2 separate regions of the Homo sapiens genome follow, and region 1 is linked to region 2. The links are contacts of gene promoters, found by promoter capture Hi-C in human tissues and cell types (Jung and others, 2019). All regions are on one chromosome and are shown on one strand. The core of a region is centred on a gene start or on the middle of the fragment in contact, and the rest is flanking DNA. Distances in the headings are between cores, read along the strand shown. Region 1 overlaps CABIN1 (calcineurin binding protein 1). Region 2 holds the start of SPECC1L-ADORA2A (SPECC1L-ADORA2A readthrough (NMD candidate)).

Region 1 (3,059 bases), core at 181-2,680, 210 kb before region 2:
ATTGGCTGTGTCTCTCTAGAGGGTAAGCTTACTGCAGGCAGGATCTGCCACATTTAGGGCTGCTGTATTTGGTGCCTAGCACAGTGCCTGGCACATAGCTGGTGCTCGGTAATCATCTGTTGATGAGATGAATGACCGAGACAGGATACAGACCAAATGCTGGCTCATGAGGCCCTGGAGAGAGGCAGAGCCTCCTGGAGGCCTGGGTTCTGGACCCCACCACCCACTTATTTTAGCTGCCTTCTTCCTGACTCAGATTTAGTTTCTCTAACAGGAAGAGTTCAGATGCTTGTGTCAGAACGTGTGTTGTGACTTTGTGATTTTGGCATGTTACATGCAGGTTAAGAAAGCTGGACCCTGAGGAGGAAGATGATTCCTTTAATAACTATGAAGTCCAGTCAGAAGCCAAACTGGAAAGCTTCCCAAGCATTGGGCCTCAAAGGCTGTCATTTGACTCAGCCACATTCATGGAATCTGGTAGGAATCGAGCAGTGTGACCATTCACTTTGGGAATTCTTCTTCCCACTATCCTATAACCTGCTTATGTTTTGTTCTGGGAGAATGGTTCTGGGGTGTTTTTTAGTGTGGCCAAGAGTCTGCCTGGATTAGTCTTGGACCTAAGCCCTGTGGTCAGCTTGGAGGTCTTCTGAAATGTCCAGGCTCATACTTGCTATGCTTTCTTATGGCCAAATTCAGAGACTTCGCTTTGCAAATTGAATCTATATAAGCACACCTGTTGAGTGTGTATCAGTGTATAACTGTTGAGTGAGATTAGTGCACATGGCAGCACTTGGAGGTCTGCCCTTTTGATGTCCACCTTAGATACGGAGATTCAGAGAGGCTCAATCATAGCTGCTGAGGGTTGGAGCCAGGCATTGAACCCAGTAGCCTGATCTCAGCACCACAACGTGGTATCATGTCCACCTGGATCAGATGGTAGAGGGAGGGAACAGTCTTTACTGTCCCAAAGTAAATAGGAGACCCTGGCATGGAAGGTACTCTTTATTCAAGTCAGGTTGTTCTTGCTCCCCGGGCAGAAAAGCAGGACGTGCATGAGTTCCTGCTGGAGAACCTAACCAACGGGGGCATCCTGGAGCTGATGATGCGCTACCTGAAAGCCATGGGCCACAAGTTCTTGGTAAGGTGGCCTCCAGGCTTGGCGGAGGTCGTGCTCAGCGTCTACCACAGCTGGAGGAGGCACAGCACCAGCCTGCCCAACCCGCTGCTGAGGGACTGCAGCAACAAGCACATCAAGGTTAGGGGGAGCCTCTCAAGGGCTGGTATTGAACTGGGACCAGGGCATGGGGACAGGGATCTTGCATGGGTGTGGGGCTGCTGTTGTGTTTGGCTGCATCTACTTGTGGGCCTGGAACCTGGTTTTTTTGTGGGTGTCGAAGCAGGAAGTCACTGAACCTAGTTTGTGCCTAGAAAGCTCCCTGATGGCTGAGTGGAGGATACACTTAGGGGTGAGAGTGGGCTCACGGGGCTATCAGGAGGCTGCTGCCATGCCAGGGGAGCAGTGGCTGAGATCCAGTGGTAATAGTGGGGTGCTGGTTTGTGGTTGCAGAGCTGATAGGTTGAACTAGACATGGGATGTGTGAGGGAATGAGAGTCATGGGGAGGGCTTCTCGGGTTGTTTACTGAGTCACAGGAAGCCTTGCCAGGAGAAGCTGGAGGAAAGGGAAACATTTGGTTTGTTTGAGTTGGCAAGGACTGTGACTGAGGCTTTTGTTGTTGTTGTTTGAGACAGGGTCTTGCTCTGTTGCCTAGGCTGGAGTGCAGTGGTGCAGTCACGGCTCACTGCAGCTTCAACCTCCTGGGCTCGGGTAGTCCTCCCACCTCAGCCTTCAAAGTAGCTGGAACCACAGCCGTACACCACCACACCCGGTTATAGTCCCAGCTACTCAGGAGGCTGAGGCAGGAGAATGGTGTGAACCCGGGAGGCGGAGCTTGCAGTGAGCCGAGATGGCGCCACCGCACTCCAGCCTAGGCGACAAGGCGAGACTCTTGTCTCAAAAAAAAAAAATTTGTTTTGTTTTGTAGAGATGGGGGTCTCCTTTTGTTACGATGTTAGGATGTGGTCTTGCCATGTTGCCATGTTGCCCAGACTGGTCTGGAACTCCTGGGCTCAAGTGATCCTGATGCCTTGGCATCCCAAAGCACTGGGATGACAGGCGGGAGCCACCATGCCTGGCCTATGACTATTTTTAACAGATGATAAAACAGCAGAAGCTAAATAGCGTGCTTAGAGAAGCTTTGGGGGCCACCAGCAGTAGGGGGCTGAGCCTCACTGAGCCTTGTCTTCCTGCTGCATTCCACACCCCAGCCTCCTCCACTTGGTGCCTCCTGGAGCTCAAGGGAACACAAGGTGCTCTGGCCCCTTACTCCTGTTGGAGGTGGGACACTGAATGCTGAAGCAGGAGCACCAGGAACATTCAGGGATGCCTGGTGGTCTTTCTGACTTGAGAGCACAGGAGGTAGAAGAGCTTGTAGGTCAGTCATCCCTTGGTGGGCACCCTCCACTGAGTTACCTCAGGGCAACCTCCTGGCAGCTTCTGCCCACCAGGCCATGCTCCCCTGGGGCAGTTGTGAAACAGCAGGAGGAACCAGGGCTTTGATCCCCAGGCAAAGCAGGCTGATGATCACCTTCCAGCTGTGCCCAATGGGCAAGTGCCTTCTCATCACTGAGCCTCAGCTTCCTCAAGTGCCCTGGGAATGGTATACCAGCTGCCCAGAACTTTTAAGGGTTGAGTTCTATAATTTGGATGCAGTGTCCGTCCCAGCACTTGGCAGGTGACAGGGCTGCCTCTTCAACAGGACAAGAACTCTGAAGACCGGTCTCCTGGCCTCTCCCAAGTCTTGTCCCAACATACATCCATGTGGCTCTTTTTATGTTCTGGCGAGTAGCCACTGATTATCACTTATGAAATGGCAAGTGGATAGAAAGAATTATATTTTTATCAAAAAGTATAGTTTTGTTTCCTTCCACAGCCCCCTACCCCCCACACTGTGAAGAGGCTTTGTGATACTGTTCTTGACCTTCCTGTGTCTGTCCTGCA
Region 2 (2,905 bases), core at 275-2,774:
TTTAAGTCTTTTTGGCTGTAAGTTTATTCAATGCAAAATAATCCTCTCCAATTCTACTGAGGTGGCTGACGGTGTCCACGACCAAATTTGCCTCTAAACTGGAATTCGGTTGCTGACCCAGCCCCAGCCTCGGCTTTCTTGTCGGCACCAGGGGGCACAGCACTCCTTCTGTAGGTATCTCTGTCGGCTTCTCCTCTTGTGAGTCTTGCAGGTCGCTCACCCTCCAGACCTTTAGACCGAGGCCTGCCAGTCCCTGGACGGCTGCGGCGTAGGGTGGCAGGCACAATCTCCAGGGGCAGATGAAGGTAATCACGGAGATACTGGATATCCTCATTGGTAAGGTACCAGTAGACATGTCTCCAGGCAAACTGTTCCTTCACGTAGTAGCCTCGGGACTACATGACAGGAAGGTTGGGCACACACATTCTTTTTTTTTTGAGAGGAGTCTCACTCTGTCGCCCAGGCTGGAGTGCAGGGGCGCGATCTCGGCTCACTGCAACCTCCGCCCCCTGGGTTCAAGCAATTCTCCTGCCTTGGCCTCCCGACTAGCTGGGATTACAGGTGTCTGCCACCGCGCCTGGCTAATATTTTTGTATTTTTAGTAGACACGGGTTTCACCATCTTGGCCAGGCTGGTCTTGAACTCCTGACCTCGTGATCCGCCCGCCTCGGCCTCCCAAAGTGCTGGGATTACAGGCCTAAGCCACCGCGCCCGGCCGGGCACATTCTTGTCTGCCAACTCCAGGTGCTTAGGCATGTGGACATCCTTCTTGACCACCGTGACTTCCTCTTTAAAAAGGAGTTCATAAATGGCAATCCGGTTTTTCTTAGGCATCAGCATTCTGGGGAGGAGCAGCCGCTAAGGTGGCAGGGTGGCCCGGATGGGGGCCGATGGAACTCGAACTCCCCCAGAATTTCTTTAATATTTTATATATATATATATATATATATACATATATATATGTATATATATACACATATATATACATATATATATACGTATATATATATGTATATATATACATATATATATACGTATATATATATACGTATATATATATGTATATACATATATATATACATATATGTTGCTCGCTTATTCTTTTTGTCTGTTCCCTTATGTACCGGGAGTGCCAGGAGGACAGGGCTTTGTGTTTTCCTCACTGCTGTCTGGCTCATGCATAGCACAGTCCTTGGCACACGGTAAACACGCTGAGGAGAACTTTTGGGACTAGCGGACTCTGAGCATCATTCCGCTGGGCCCAGTGGGGCCTCTGAAGGGACCCGCCTTGCCCGGCTCCAGCCCAAGACCTGAGGCATGCGCACCGGCTGGCCGGCTACTTTCTTGACCGGCCAAGTGGCAGAGCGGCTGCGCGACCCAGTGCCGAGACGGACGCGAGCCGGAGATGGGGGAAGGGGAGGGGGTGGTGGTGGGGGACGGCGGCGCCTGCGCAGTGAAGGAATGTAGGCGGGGCCTCCACGACGCCTGCGCAGACGGCCGCAGCCCTGCTGGGCGCGAAGGGGCTGGCCAAGGGCGGGGCCCGCGAGGGAGGCCGGGCGGCCCGGCAAGCGGCGCTGCGGGGTAGGCTGCTTTCCTGAGGCCGGACTCAACGGGTCTCGGCTGAGCCACCGGGTGAGCTCACCGCCCAGCCCAAACCAGGAGATTGCGAGGGAGCGATGCGGTGCAGCGCGGTAAGAGCAGCAGCCGGGTTCCCGCAGTGTTCGCTGGCGGGTTGGTTTATCGCCTCAGCGCCGCCCGCGCTGCCGCGCCCGGGCGTCCCCGCAGACCCCGGCAGGCCCAGCGCCTGCGCCGTCTCTGCTCCTGGGCCCCTCCAGTGTGTCCCGCGCCTGCGCCTTTCCCTTCCCGCGCCGTCCTCGTTCTGGGCTTCGGGGCTTCTGGAACAACCCGCAGGCTTCGCCGCCGAGACCCACTGGCCTTCGTCCGTTGGTGTTGGGGTTCAGCTGGTTCTGGGACCCCGCTTGCGGCTTGACTGTGTGCAGACAGGCCGGGTGCGACCCTCGTGCTTGCCTTTCCGCCGCTCCGGGAGAGGCTGGGGCTGCCGCCCCATCGCCCGGGTCCCTTGCCTGGGGCGGGGACAGCGTTGTTCAGTGGCCCCGAGGGCGCAGAGCGGAGGAGCAGGGGCCACAGGCGGCGGACCCCGGGCCTGCTGCCGGTGCTGCTTCTGCTGTGGCCGGCGCCCGAGGCGGACGGAACGTCCTTTTTTCTTGAGACGTGGTTAATTGCATCAGGTTGGATGTGAATAATCCGGTACCTGTCTGAGGAAATTTTGCGTTTCCAGGAATTTGGTAATTGTATTACCTTAAGTAGTTAAGTCTAAGACATCATAGTCGCGGCACGTTGGGCAAGCTGCCCTGGAGATGACGAAAAGAAATCAGTTTCCAGTAGTTTTAGCCCATTTACAGAACACGCAAAAATTCTGTGATCATTCAAATGCGGGGAACCTTGATTTGTTGATATCCTTGATCATTTGTCCAAGTACCAGAAGGGCGAGGAAAAGATTCCCGTGAACAGCCCAGGTGATTTCAGGGAACAGTGTTTTCTTTTGTCAAAAGAGCCTCTTAAGCCATGATAATATTTCCCAAGCTTATAACAGATACAAGCCTTTAAAAAATGGCATTTGCTGTCACCCAGTAGGACACATCTTGAGATGAAATCAGAGCTGTAGGCTTTGTAGACAACAGCAGTCATTTCTGGTGGCTTCAGGGAGTGGAGGGGGACTGCAATTTTGCCAATGTAGGTGATACCAAAGGGACTATAGTAATTTTTTCTTCGTAATTAAAAACCAGGCCAGGCGCGGTGCCTCATGCCTGTAATCCCAGCACTTTGGGAGGCCGGGGCGGGCGGATCACCTGAAGTCAGGAGTTCAAGACCAGCCTGACCAACA

Evidence for each region. The method cuts DNA at HindIII sites, captures the fragments that hold promoters and counts their contacts. A contact is called where the count stands out against the background at its distance.
Region 1: a fragment that was not itself captured here is called in contact with the fragment with the promoter of SPECC1L-ADORA2A in region 2 in 2 of the 25 tissues and cell types used here (aorta and spleen).

What each region holds. Positions count from the first base shown.
Region 1 is chr22:24,058,887-24,061,945 of GRCh38, forward strand. CABIN1 (calcineurin binding protein 1) reads left to right here. Exons shown (of 37, transcript NM_012295.4): 11 at 341-477; 12 at 1,038-1,255. Among named protein-coding and RNA genes, the nearest start is that of CABIN1, 49 kb to the left of the region's middle. The HindIII fragment of the contact is 4,065 bases long and covers 1-3,059 here.
Region 2 is chr22:24,269,293-24,272,197 of GRCh38, forward strand. It overlaps SPECC1L-ADORA2A (SPECC1L-ADORA2A readthrough (NMD candidate)), which reads left to right and starts at 1,525. Exons shown (of 20, transcript NR_103546.1): 1 at 1,525-1,691. It overlaps SPECC1L (sperm antigen with calponin homology and coiled-coil domains 1 like), which reads left to right and starts at 1,539. Exons shown (of 17, transcript NM_015330.6): 1 at 1,539-1,691. It also overlaps the pseudogene RPS10P29. RefSeq lists a silencer at 1,328-1,857 and an enhancer at 1,918-1,997. The HindIII fragment of the contact is 12,728 bases long and covers 1-2,905 here.